2 separate regions of the Homo sapiens genome follow, and region 2 is linked to region 1. The links are contacts of gene promoters, found by promoter capture Hi-C in blood cells and fetal thymus (Javierre and others, 2016). All regions are on one chromosome and are shown on one strand. The core of a region is centred on a gene start or on the middle of the fragment in contact, and the rest is flanking DNA. Distances in the headings are between cores, read along the strand shown.

Region 1 (6,965 bases), core at 2,723-5,222:
GTGTCATGACCCCACTCCATCCAAGTCTCAGGCTTCTGGATAGAAAAGAAATGGTGGAGATAATGCCCATTCCTGAAGCTATGATGACTACATGAGGTTAAAATACGGAAACACCTTAACACAGTGACTAGCACGAGATCTGTTATCACAAATAACGTTATTCATAAAAATTCACTTGGCTTCATGCTTTGCAGAAAAAGTGTGTTCACAAAGTAGAAAGAAAAATCCAGCCTTAGAACCAAGAATCTTTACAAGGTCAGGAAAAGCTTCTCCCTTTCCCCACCTCCTGCTCCGAGGTTTTCCTGCTGCCTCCCGGGAAAGGTGGGACTCTTCCACCACCTTGTGGACACCCAGGGATGGCAGGTGAGCAGGCTTCCACCGCCTCACACCAGCTCTCCTCTGCACTGTTGGAGCCTATTATTCTGGGTCCGACTGGGTCTCTCTAGGCTCACACTGTGCATGTCCTGTCTCCATCCTCTGTTCCTTTCTGGGCTGGGGCAGTGGATGGGGCTCCTGTGTCCTCCTGGCTGCCTGCCGGTCCCCGTGTACGTGGCAGGGCTGCAGCAGTCCCCTGTTTTCCTTAGATCCTGGCGTGGAGTTGGTGTGGCTCCTGCTTCCCTGGGGCCCTGGCTGGCCCCGTAGACCCCTCCAGGTCTCTCTGCCAAAGTCCCCCCACCCAGCCACCTGGCCCAACTGTCCTTCCCACAGTGAGGCTGAGGGTCCCCCCACCCCACGTCATGTCCCAGCCCCACGGGGCCATTGCAGCTTCAGCTCTGCATCCAGGCACTGAATGGGAGCCACAAGAGCCTCACAGGGCAAATTAGAGCCCCCACTGTTCTGATCCCCCAGCCGGGCTGCGGCCGCTGTGTTGGTGTACGGGGGCTCTGCCCAGAGCAAACTCTGCCACGACAGGGCTGAGGCGCAGGGAGAAAGGAGCTGGGATGCACCCCAAGCACCTTCCTCCCCCTCACTCTCCCTCCTCCCTCTGCCATCCTTCCCCCACACCCAGGACCGGAAGGGCGAGCGTCTCTTGTCTTTCCTGCATGTTCTGTCAGCCCCTTCCACTCTGGCCCCCAGTCTAGACCTATTGTCGAGACAGGAGAAATCTTGTCTGCCCCCAGGGAGAAACACTGCTCTCTGCCCTGAACTTGGAGGGGCTAAAAAGCAAAAGCTCTAGCCTTAGAAGGTTCTCACTTTGGAAGTTTAAAAAAGGTCAAAGGAATTTTCAAAATCCCTTTCTTTCTCAACAATGCTTAGATTTCAAACCTCTTCTCTTGTTGCAAAATCCCGTTGTGAACATCAGAACCTCGAGATGATCTTTAAGTTTTCTCAGCATTCCCCATCTTCTCTCCCCTCTGCAAGCAGCTAAAAGTTACAGAAGCAGTTGAAGCCAGCAACTCCCCACCCCCATCTCCTCCTCTCCTGGGGACAGGGGCCCCATCTCTCAGCCCTGTTGTGGGTTGGGTGTGGCCGGTGTGGCTGTGTGGCAGGGTCCTAGCCAATGGGATTCGAGTGGAACGTGGGCCTCCTGCACACCTGGCCCCGTGGGCAGGCACCACCTGGGCTCCTCCCTCAGTGCACCAGGGCAGAGCAAGATGGAGGCAACCGGGATCCCTGAATGGCTTCACAGAGGTCCCCACCCATCAGGCACACTTCTGCCAACCTCATGTGGAAGTAAGCTTCTATTGCATTAAGTCCCTGAGGTGCTGAAGCTCATCAGTTGATGGCAGGCCACTTGCATGCAAAATAGAAAAGGACATCGGTATTTTTTTCAAGCTGTTACCCTGTTATAGAGATAAAAGAAGCCAGAACCAGCCCCCTCCAGTGGCTCCTTCTCTTCAGCCTGGGCAGGATCTGTTGAAATTCCCATGGTGTCCTCTGGGGCCCTCTGCCCTGCGCCTCTCCCTGGCAGTGCGAGGTCCACAGTTCACCTGCAATTAGCTCCCATGTGCAGGGGACTCATAAAGGAGCATCTTTGAGCTCCAGACCCAAGTGTCTGGTGGCCTAGAGGCTGCGAAGGCCCTCAAGCTCAGCATATCCCAAAGCAAACCTATGGCATTCACTCCAGCACACACCTGCTTTGGCCTCCATGAATCCACTCTCTTCCCTCATCGCTCAAGCTAGAAACTTCTTAGCACCACCCTCGCTGTTCCTGTACCCCCCCACCTTCAGTCAATCATGGAGTCCTAAGTCCCCGGCCAGTCCATCACCTCTCTCCCTCTACCAACACCCCCAACTCTCCCACCTGTGCCACCCGGTACGCCCATGTGGTCCCCTGGTTCCCTCCAATCTGTTTTCACTCTGAGCTTTATGATCTTTGCTAACTGTGAATAGGATTCATGCCATCCACTCCCCTACATAAAACCTTTCTAGGCTTCTCTTTGCTCTTAGAAACTGGCAACTGCCTAAGAGGCCACACCTGGGCCTGTCCCACCTCCCCAGCCCTCACCTCCTTCCCAGGCCTCTGCATCCCTGTCCCCCTCCACTTCCTTTGCAGTGTGCCTCCAGGCCCTCTCCCCTCCGGAGCTCTGCCAGTGCAGAGCTCTCTGAGCCCTCTGTGTGGGACATGCTGTTCTCTCTACTTGGCCTGGTAGGGCTCCTTGAGGAGCCCTCGACCCTCCCAATGGGGTGGAATCCGCCGCGGTAAACTTCCACAGGGCCCCGTGCCCCCACTCTGCAGCGCTTCCCTGGGGTTATTATTCCACTACCAGCTGCATAATTATTTCATCCGTAATTATTGGACTCAGCCCAGCTCACTTCTGCCCCTGGCCTTTGCACTTGCTCTTCCCAGTGCCTGGCGTGACCTTCCCCACACGTCAGTCTGGCTGGCCCCCCTAGCTCCTCAGGTCCTTCTTTTCTTTTTGAGATGGAGTCTCACTCTGTGGCCCAGGCTGGAGTGCAGTGGCACGATCTCAGCTCACTGCAACCCCTGCCTCCCAGGTTCAAGCGATTCTCCTGCCTCAGCTGAGTAGCTGAGATTACAGGCACCCAGCACCACGTGTGGCTAATTTTTATATTTTTAGTAGAGATGGGGGTTTTGCCATGTTGGCCAGGCTGGTCTCGAACTCCAGACCTCAGGTGATCTGCCCCTCTCGGCCTCCCAGAGCGCAGGGATTACAGGTGTGAGCCACCGTGCCCGGCCTGCTCCGCAAATCCTCCTTCTAGTGTCACCTTCCAGGTGAGGACTCGCCAACAACCTGATAGAAACCTGCAAGGCCAGCGCCTCTGCAGCCCCACACTCCCTAACCCCTTCTCTAGGGCATTGCCATCTTCTGACATACCATTTATTTTATGTCTTGTTTAATGTGTGTGTGTCTCTCTCTTAAATGTCATGCAGCCGGGTGCGGTGGCTCACACCTGTACTTTGGGAGGCCGAGGCAGAAGGATCACTTGAGCCCAGGAGTCGAGACCAGCCTGGGCAACATAGCAAGGCCCTGCCTCTCTGTATTTTAAAAAATGAAGTAAATAATAAATACATAAAGTATTTATGTATTTACTTACATTACAAAGTTCCCCCAGGGGCGGGAACTTTGCCTTGTTCTTGCGGCATCCCCAGTGCCTTGGACAGCTCCGGGCCCAGAGTCGCGACGCCTCCAGCAGGCCCGGCTGCCCCACTGCGCACATGGGCACAGGCTTGGCACACGCACTGCGGCATTCACGTATCCGCGAACACATGGGTATCTATTTATACATGAAGACACGAAAATGTATTTATTTCTTTTAAAATCAGAAGAAAACGGTGAGAACTGTGAGGCCGGGGGGACGTTTTCCTCCGGGATCCTGGCAGATCCTGCAGACCGCGCCGTCGTGCGCGAAGCACCGGGACGGGCCTCCCGCGGGAAGGGCCCAGGAGGACACCGGGCTCCCCTCCCGCCCGCGGGGCCCCAGACGCGGCGCCGCTTTAAGGCTCCGGGCCCCGCGCGGATGCGGAGGCTGCGGCCGTGACGTCAGCGCCCCGCCCCGGGTGATGCTGCAGCAGCCGGGACCGCGGCCGGGCAGGCAGCAGCCCAGCGGGGACAGGGATGCCTGCCGTCTCCACCCACAGGTACCACCGTCTCCTCCGCGCCCTCCGCCCGCTCTCTGGCTCCGTGCCTGCCGGGGCGCCGCGCCCTGGGCCCCGGGGTAGTCAGGGCGCCGAGACCGGGACCCGAGGCCGGCACGGAGACCTTTGTTCCTCGTGGAAGTCTCATGAATTGCAGAGTCCACGGAGCTCCCCCGTCTCGCCCCTCCGAGGGCAGGAGCCTCGGGCCCAGGGGAGGGTGCCGGCCAGATGGCAGGTGCTCTCATCCTTGCTGGCAAGGGGAGGAGACCCCGGCCTTGGCCCCAGCTCCTGATGCGCTCCTTGAGCCGGAGGCCTGGTCCCTAGTCACCTGGGCAGGTGTCATCCGCTCCCGGCTCACCTCTTGCGTGGGGCTGAGCCCTCTTGTTGACCAGGGGCCTGGCAACGCCCCTCAGCATCCCAGGGTTACTTAGCGAGGGCACCGAGGACTCCCCTTTCCCGAGCGAGTCAGCACCAAGGGGAACGCGCTGAGGTGGAAGCCGTTCAGCTCCTTCTGCCCTCGACAATCAGCAACTTCTCTAATTATTTCTAGAGTGACAGCCGTGCATGTTTTTCAGCTCTTACAGGGAAGCAGAGTCAGGGGCGGAGGAAAGCCACGTTCAGGCTGCACCTGGCCTGGGCTTTTGGGAAAAGTTGGCCCTGGAGTAGGGGTCAAGCTGCCGGAGATGCAAAGTGGGAAACGGCCACGATTCAGTAACTAGCCTATTAAGTGCACCCTCCCAAGTCCGTAGAGCACCTTCCTGGTCCTGGAGGACCTCACTGAAGAATTTTGAGAATGGGTAGAAAGAAGCATGAGGGGTCGGGCGCGGTGGCTCATGCCTGTAATCCCAGCACTTTGGGAGGCTGAGTCGGGTGGATCACCTGAGGTCAGGAGTTCAAGACCAGCCTGGCCAACATGGTGAAACCCCATCTCTACTAAAAATACAAAATTAGCCGGGCGTGGTGGCACATGCCTGTAATCCCAGCTACTTGGGAAGCTGAGGCAGGAGAATCGCTTGAACCCAGGAGGCGGAGGTTGCAGTGAACCCAGATCATGCCACTGCACTCTAGTCTGGGCGATAGAGTGAGACTCCGTCTCAAATAAACAAATAAGCAAATACGCCCTAGGAAGGGAGGTGGCCCAAGGCAACCCCGTGGGGGGAGCTCATTTTCATAACGAGAAGAAAGAAATGAGGAAATGGTTTCCGCTCGTAGTAGGATCATTGTAAGCATTCAAACTACATTGACATTGATTACTTTTATTAATCATTTGCCGCTTAAACTTCCCACAACACAGTTTGAGGAATCTGTTACTTTAAGCATCCTCTGTACTCTGGAAGCACAGTGGACCCCTTGCATAGCCTTCGGGGGATCCAGGGAGATGAGTGGATTTCCTTTTGACCGAGTAAATGGTCATATGGTACAGTAAAGATGGTCTGGCGAATGTTTGTATTTGTGCATGAAAATTAGATTTTATGATCTTAAATTCCACTTTCACCCATTTTTATGGGAACCTTAAAAATGGATTTTTGTTGTTGTTGTTGTTGTTTTTTGAGACAAGAGTCTCACTCTGTTGCCCAGGCTGGAGTGCAGTGGTGCGATCTCAGCTCGCTACAACCTCCACCTCCTGGGTTCAAGCGATTCTCCTGCCTCAGCCTCCGGAGTAGCTGGGATTACAGGCACTCGCCACCATGCCCAGCTAATTTTTTGTATTTTTAGTAGAGACGGGGTTTCTCCATGTTGGCCAGGCTGGTCTCGAACTCCTGAGCTCAGGTGATCCACCCACCTCGGCCTCCCAAAGTGCTGGCATTACAGGCGTCAGCCACTGTGCCCGGTCTCAAAAATGAGTTTCTAAAATTCTTCTTATGATAAACATTTGTGAACAGTTTTTACTAAATGTAGTTTTAATAAAAATGGTAATGCTGATCCCCAGATTTGAAGATGAATCCTTAGTAAAGACTTCTTCTGAGCCAGGATTAAGCTAGGTTTAATTCTGGTTCAGATGCTAGAGAGAAGTTCATTGAGTGTGTGAGGATCTCCCTTCTGCTAGGACAGGCTGCAGTGGGGTGTGGCGGAGGTGGCAGTAGAGTTGTCCTCTTGCAGGTAGAGAAGTGGGCCGTCTACATAGTCCACTTTAAATAAGGTCAAAGAGGCTCCTCTTTTCAAAAAGACACTTCAGGGGCTGGGAATGGTGGCTCATGCCTGTAATTCCAACACTTTGGGAAGCCAAGGCAGGTGGATCACTTGAGCCCAGGAGTTTGAGGCCAGCCTGGGCAACATGGCGAAACCCCATCTCTACAAAAAAATACAAGAATTAGCCTGGTGTGGTGGTGTGCACCTGTAGTTCCAGCTATTTGGGAGGCTGAGGTGAGAGGATCACCTGAGCCCAGGGAGGTTGAGGCTGCACTGAGCGATGATGACTGCACTCCAGCCTGGGCTAGATAGAGGGAGACTCTGTCTGTCTGTCTGTCTGTCTGTCTCTCTCTCTCTCTCTCTGTTTCTCTCTCTCTCTACACACACACACACACACACACACACACACACACACACACACCTGCCATATGCTGTTTAAAGCTGAAGTTTTTCCAAACTGGGCCACAGTTCTTCATTCCAAATTTAAAGGGAAGGTTTCTAATGCACTTAAGTTCACATTATGGTTAAAATGCTGATTAGAAAGAGTGGGAGATATGCCTGTGTGCCTGCAGGTGGGGAGAGGCTGGGCAGAGGGACAGAAAGGGAGATGGCCACTGAGAGCATACGTGGGGCTGTGACCTTTGGGCGGAGTCCGATCCAACCGTCCACCTCACCTGTGCTGGGTCTCGCCTCTGACTCTGAAGGAGATGGTCTTACACAGTGTTGGAACTGGCGCTCTATTTCTGTGCTTTTGATGAATGAAGCTCCAGGGGATGCTAACTGCTGCTTGGGG
Region 2 (6,965 bases), core at 3,260-5,759, 540 kb after region 1:
GGCCACCTTCCTGCCTCGGCTGCATTCACTAAAATGAAAATTACCAGGACTTTGTGCTTTTCAGGGAAAGCCTGGCTGCCTCCCACTGTGTCCTTGAAAGCTTGGCGTTCCAGCCCTGCCTGGTTATCACCACCTATGAAATCCATTTACTTGTTACACCAGCGGTTCTCAAGTCTGGCTGCACACTGGAGTCAGCTTTAAAAAATACTGAAGCTTTGGGTTCCACCCTGAGGTTCTGAATTAATTGACCTGGGGTGAGTCCTGATATAGAAGCTTCAGAAGCCTCCCAGGTGATTCTAATGTGGCCAAGTTTCGGAATCATTGCTTTAAACTTTCAACTTACCTTTTTTTTTGAAGACAGAGTCTCGGTTTGCTGCTCAGGCTGCAGTGATCACAGCTCACAACTCCTGGGCTCAAGTGATCTCTCCACCGCAGCCTCCTGAGTAGCTGGGACTACAGGGACCATGTCACCATGCCCAGCTAATTTTTTACTATTTTTTTTTTTCAGCTGGGTGCAGTGGCTCACGCATGTAATCCCAGCACTTTGGGAGACCAAGGAGGGCAGGTCACCTGAGGTCGGGAGTTCAAGACCAGCCTGGCCAACATGGTGAAACCCTGTCTCTACTAAAATTACAAAAATTAGCTGGGAGCGGTGGTACATGCCAGTAATCCCAGCTACTCTGGAGGCTGAGGCACGGGAATCACTTGAATCCAGGAGGTGGAGGTTGCAGTGAGCCAAGATCATGCCACTGCACTCCAGCCTGGATGACAGAGTGAGATGCTGTCTCAGAAAAAACCAAACCAAACCATATATATAGTTTTTTTTCAGCCCAGGCTAACCCCAGACCTATCTTAAATGTTTCACTGAGGATGGCTTTCTCGAAACTTATTCATGTTGCCTGTCCTGCTTCAGACAGGCTCCCCAGGAAAGGACCCAGAGGTCTGCACTTCTGCTGGGCTCACATCTGCCAGTCAATGTCAGGAATGTGCTTTGTTTCTGCTGGGTCAGGAAGTTTAGTCACAGTTGGCTTTCCTTATTTGGGGCCTCTGTGTCTCCAGGGTCAATGTGGTAAACCGCTCAGTCCAGCCTGCAATGGAAATGGCTCCAACCCCAGCCCAGCAGCTTCCTTTCAGGGTGGTGTGGACTGGAAGGGATCCTATCTACCTGTGTTTGCCATCTAACCTCAAGAGTGATAAATGAGGTTCACCTCACAGTCAGGAAATGTTGACATTAAACCAAACTGAAAAATACTCATGCTAACTTGCTGCCTTCGAGTTGAGACAAACAAGATGTAGAACATGCCAGTAACTGTCAGACCCAAGTTCCATGATTTACTTCCCTCCAGGATCAGTTCTCAGACACTGGTCATGAGAACCTGGAAAGGGTTAGTATCTGGGGTTTTATGTGGGATGATTGCATTAAGTTAGGCAGGAGAATGACTTTGTTACTGTCATTATCTGGAGATTAAGTATAGTTTAAGGAAATGCATATGGGTGTAGAGCTGACAAGGGGGGAACCATGATGGCTTTGATATATCAACTTGACGATTCCCCAGTTATTCAATCAAATACTAATCTAGGTATTACTGTGAAGCTATTTTGCAGCGGTAATTAAAGCTACTAATAAGTAGACGTTAAGGAATTATCCTAATTACTCTAGATCTGCCCAACTCCATAAGCGAGGTGTTTTTTTGTTTTTTGAGAGTCTTCCTCCATCACCCAGGCTGGAGTGCAGTGGCGTGATCTCAGCTCACTGCAACCTTCACCTCCTGGGTTCAAGCAATTCTCCTGTCTCAGCCTCCTGAGTAGCTATGACCACAGGCACACGCCACCACTCCCGGCTAATTTTTTGGTATTTTTAGTAGAGACTGGGTTTCGCCATCTGGGCCAGGCTGGTCACAAACTCCTGACCTCAGGTGATCCACCCACCTCAGCTTCCTAAAGTGCTGAGATTACAGGTGCAAGCCACTGCACCCAGCTAGTGAGGTGGTCTTAAAAACCGAGGTTTCAAGACAGAAATTTCACCTGTGAAATGACAGCTTCACCCAAGCCCCTGGAGTTCCAGCCTGCTGCTGGCCATTGTCCCTTCCCACTGGCAGCCCTGTGAATTTCAGACGTGCTTATCCAGGCCCCACAATCAGAGGCCAGTTATTACTTTTGAGAAAGGCTCTCACTGTGTCACCCAGACTGGAGTGCAGTGGTGCGATTTTGGCTTATGGCAGCCTTGACCTCTGGGGCTCAAGCAATCCTCTGGCCTCAGCCTGCTGAGTAGCTGGGACCATAGCTACGCCGACATGCTTGGCTAACTTTACCTCTCCTTATTGGTTCTGCTTCTCAGGTTAAATCCTGACATTAACAATGAACAAGAATGTCCACAAGAGGGCTCCCCAGCTCCCTGACTGTGCATTGGAACGCGCAACTCAAGATACTTCTTTTAGGGAGAAAAATCAAGTAATAGAATATGGGACCTCTTAAGGTGCAGATGGCAACCACAGTTTCTCATCTCTTTATTTTTTTTGAGACGGAGTCTCACTCTTGCCCAGGGTGAAGTGCAGTGGTGTGATCTTGGCTCACTGCAACCTCCACGTCCTGGGTTCAAACGATTCTCATGCCTCAGCCTCCTGAGCAGCTGGGGTTACAGGCGCATGCCACCAAGCCCAGCTAATTTTTTATTTTTTTTCGAGATGGAGTCTTGCGCTGTCACCCAGGCTGGAGTGCAGTGGCGCAATCTTGGCTCACTGCAACCTCCGCCTCCTGGGTTCAAGTGATTCTCCTGCCTCAGCCTCCTGAGTAGCTGGGACTACAGGTGCCTGCCACCACGCCTGGCTAATTTTTGTATTTTTAGTAGAGATGGGGTTTCAACATATTGGCCAGGCTGGTCTCAAACTCCTGACCTTGTAATCCACCAGCCTCAGCCTCCCAAAGTGCTGGGATTAGAGGCATGAGCCACCGCACCCGGCCTCATTTTTGTATTTTTAGTACAGGCGGGGTTTTGCCATATTGGCCAGGCTGGTCTTGAACTTCTGACCTCAGATGATCCGCCTGCCCTGGCCTCCCAAAGTGCTGGGATTATAGGCATGAGCCACTACAACTCGCTTCATCTCTCACTTTTTAATAAACGTATTCTTCACACCCCGTGTTCAGCATTACCCTAGAACAGTACTTGCTGCAACATTCAAGTTTTCCATCTGCTTAATCCAATGCAGTGGGCAGCAGCTACAAATGGCAGCTACCGGACACATGAAACCTGAAGCTTGAGAAACCGAGGAGTGGAATTCATTCATTTAAATCGGGTCCTGAGGTCTTCTTGATGCCCTTCTGCCTTCCTGCCCAGAGCTCCCATTTAATCCTTCTTTCACCTGCTTTCCCCAGGAAGAGACCCTGGGAAGAGAACATCTCTTCCCAGGATGGTCACCTTTACCCTGAAGTCCTTCTGGTCTGAATATGGCTGTGTAACCTAGTAGCTACCATCCTTAAGATTATCTACAAATAGGCCTGCATTTGAAGTTTCTTCCAAACAAGGTGTCCAAACAAAGTCTCGCTCTGCCTTCCAGCTTAGACTCTGTTTTGACCCCACTATCCTGGAGGGACCGTGTATGTCTCTTCTCTTGCCTTTGCCTCTGGTTCCCTTCCCAAGGACCCAGGAAAATGACCCCAATGGATCCTCATCCTTTTCTGTTACGACACCAAACCTTGGTTCTCAAAGGCCGACACCCTTTCGCCAGGGGCCCCTGAACACTAAGGACAGACCCAGATTGTTCCAGACATACACAGGCACACGGAGTATTCTCATGGGTCACTGAGGCTTTTTATTTTGAGCACAAAACCACCGGGGATCTAGCCTGTGGCCACCCCGGAGATGACACGAGGCTCACATGACTCTAGACACTTGGTGGAAAGTGAGGCGAGAAAAACAATGACTTGGGCCAATTACACGACTGCAAAGCTAGAGCTGCCAACAGGGCTCCAGGGAGCTTGGCTTCTGTAGAAGTTCTAAGGAAGCGGTACGAACTCCACGGCGGTGGGGCGCTAACTAGCAGGGACCCCTGCAAGTGTTGGTCGGGGGCCTCGAGCTGCCTGAGCTGACACGAGGGGAGGGGTCTGTGTAGCCAACAGGTGACCGAAGGGCTTGCCTGCCCACAGCTTACTTGGCCAAGGGGTTTCTGAAGTTCCTGCCGGCAAACTTAGCCTTGCTGCCCAGCTCCTCTTCAATTCTTGGGAAGGAGAAAGGTAAAGAGATGGGGAGGAAAAAAGAAAAGTCAGACCTCAAGTTTTAAGTTTTCCCATCCTAGATGTGGTCAAAGACACAGCCCCACTCCTGGGAAGTTGAGAACACAGAACTCTCCAGTTTGTCCACCTTCTTTAAACCCTCTAAACTTGTGCTTCTCTGAGAAGCCAGATATAGAAAAGTATTTAGTTCTCCTCATCCCAACTCACCATGCTAGGTGCCCTCCACCCACCGCCCCTTCTCTTCCTCTCCTCTCCCCGTCAGTGTTGCAGAGGAGCAAAGTAAAATGTCAGCATTGCCATTTCTTGGAATATAAAAATTCTAATGCTTTTGTTTTTTAAAAAATATTGAAGGGACAACAAATAAATGGCATGGGGAGAAAAGGAGAGTGACCTTATTAAAAGACAAAATGTGTGAGCTGTTTGGATCTTGATGTTAAAAAAAAAAAAAAAAAAAAAGGCCAACACATTTTGGGGCCAGGCACAGTGGGAGGATCACCCGAGGTCAGCTTGACCAATATGGTGAAACCCCGTCTCTATTAAAAATACAAAACAATTAGCCAGGCATGGTGGTGGGCACCTGTAATCCCAGCTACTCGGGAGGCTCAGACAGGAGAATTGCTTGAATCTGGGAGGCAGAGGTTGCAGTGAGCCAAGACTGAGCCACTGCACTCCAGCCTGGGCGACAGAGTGAGATCCCTCTCAAAAAAATAAAAATAAAATTCCCCAGCAAAAAAAGAATGGGAGTTTGAGGCTGCAGTGAGCTATGACTGCCCCACTGCACTCCAGCCTGAGTGACATGGCAAGACCCTGTCTCAAACAAACAAAACAACAAAAAAGCCCTGCGTCTACTGTTCACCTGCTTTTTTGTATATGTTTGAAAATTTCCAGGATACAGTTTGAATGAAGGGGTAATATGGGAGAACTTAGCGGGGTGGCGGGCGGGGGGACAAGTCTCCTGGTGTTCAGGGGCTTCCCAAGGACACAGACAGGAAAGGGAGACCAGAACAGCCCCACAGCGCTCACAAGTGGAAACCCAGCCATGTGCCCTTCGGCCTTTTCTTCCTCCCTCCCAGCCCTGGCTCCACATCCACAAACAGGGGTTAAATGCGCTGAAACAGATCATATGAAGGAGCTCTCTGAAAGCTCTAAGAAAGTCATGCATCAGCTGTCAAAGGGGGTCCCATTCTTTCTCACCAGAAGAGGGCAGCACTGTGTGGAACAGGCTCCTGCCTCTGGTGGCGCTGCAGTGGGTGGGTAGGGGGAGTCTAGGCCTAACTCTGTCCTGACCTAAGCCTGCTCAGGGCCTGGCTGTCTGCACTGTGCACCTGCACCTGTACATGTTCCCAGAGCCAGGAGCTCCTGGGGGAGGGCAGTGCCTACACTGAGTGCAGGCCCCCACCTAGTGAACCACAGGCCCCTTGTTCTCAGGAGCCCTCCTTACCTGAGGAGCTGGTTGTACTTGGCCAAGCGCTCAGATCGGCAAGGGGCACCAGTCTTGATCTAGGAGAAAAGAAAGGCCATTTGCTTACAGCGGACAAGCTTTGCAGGCATTTCTGGCAGGGAGAGGGTGTGGTGTCAGAGAGAGAATTTCTAGAGGATCTGATGCTAGGAAAGTGGGGGCCACAACATACAGGCAGGGCGCTCATGCCCCCATTCTGTTCAGCCTCAGAAACAAGAGCACTGACTCAGGGGACATGAGCAAAACGGGGACAGACATGGAGCCTCACTGGTTTTGGGTCTTCCTAGGAAGTTGAGGTCAGAGAAGAAAGGAGGAGACGCTCATTCTTACCTGCCCAGTGCACAGCCCCACAACCAGGTCAGCGATGAAGGTATCTTCAGTCTCCCCCGAACGATGAGACACCATGACGCCCCAACCATTGGCCTGGGCCAGCTTGCACCTGGAAGCCAAGGAACAACCCAGATGGCATGATCCCATTTTCTGGTTCCATAACCCCCAATGCCATTACCCCTCGGTGCCAGCAGGAAAGCAGTGGAGGGGCTGTTAATGGCTAAAGCCCTCCATGCCTGGGCTTTGTCAAGAGCACAGAGGAGAACCCTCACCCTCCCCTGAACTCTTCCACCCCCAGGACCTTCTTAGCCCTCCTGTCATAGTTGAAACACTGGGTTCAGCCTCCCTTGATGGGAGAAAGATTAGTGTTCTCTGACAGAGCTCTTCACAGAATACAACTACTTGCTATGTTGCCCAGGCTGGTCTTGAGCTCCCGAGCTCAAGTGATCCTCCTGCCTTGGCCTCCCAAAATGTTGGGATTACAGGCCCCAATTGTTTAATTTAAAAGGCTCCTGAGTTCAAACACAAAACCTGTTAAAATTCCAGCGAGTCCTACATTCTGGCCAGCAGGATTCCCCATCACCAGAACAAAAGGGCCCTTTTCTGATTCACAAGCCGTAGCTGCGGGAAAGCTGCTCGCCTGGGAAGACACTTACGCCTGAAGAGACTCGGTCACGGAGCCAATCTGGTTGACTTTGAGCAGGAGGCAGTTGCAGGACTTCTCGTTCACGGCCTTGGCGATCCTCTTTGGGTTGGTCACTGTGAGATCATCCCCCACTACCTGGATTCCTGCACTGGCTGTGAACTTCTGCCAAGCTCCCCAGTCATCCTGGTCAAAGGGATCTTCGATAGACACCACTAAGGAAAGGAGGGACACGCTTCATCAGTGTGATCCTCCCAGTGTGCTCCACCGCAATGCCCAGCCTTGCTTCCCCCTTGACTTGCT

The links. Contacts are between HindIII fragments. The CHiCAGO score rates a contact against its expected background, and 5 or more counts as called.
Region 2: a contact is called between a fragment that was not itself captured here and the fragment with the promoter of SLC45A1 in region 1, in 1 of 17 cell types (total B cells). The highest score is 5.0, in total B cells.

The regions. Positions count from the first base shown.
Region 1 is chr1:8,314,142-8,321,106 of GRCh38, forward strand. It overlaps SLC45A1 (solute carrier family 45 member 1), which reads left to right and starts at 3,973. Exons shown (of 9, transcript NM_001080397.3): 1 at 3,973-4,045. RefSeq lists silencers at 234-283, 324-373, 3,803-4,082. The HindIII fragment of the contact is 5,366 bases long and covers 1,678-6,965 here.
Region 2 is chr1:8,857,216-8,864,180 of GRCh38, forward strand. It overlaps ENO1 (enolase 1), which reads right to left. Exons shown (of 12, transcript NM_001428.5): 9 at 6,676-6,877; 10 at 6,020-6,128; 11 at 5,672-5,730; 12 at 3,785-4,214. The coding sequence ends at 4,145. Among named protein-coding and RNA genes, the nearest start is that of MIR6728, 5.9 kb to the right of the region's middle. RefSeq lists an enhancer at 5,315-5,609. The HindIII fragment of the contact is 2,516 bases long and covers 3,252-5,767 here.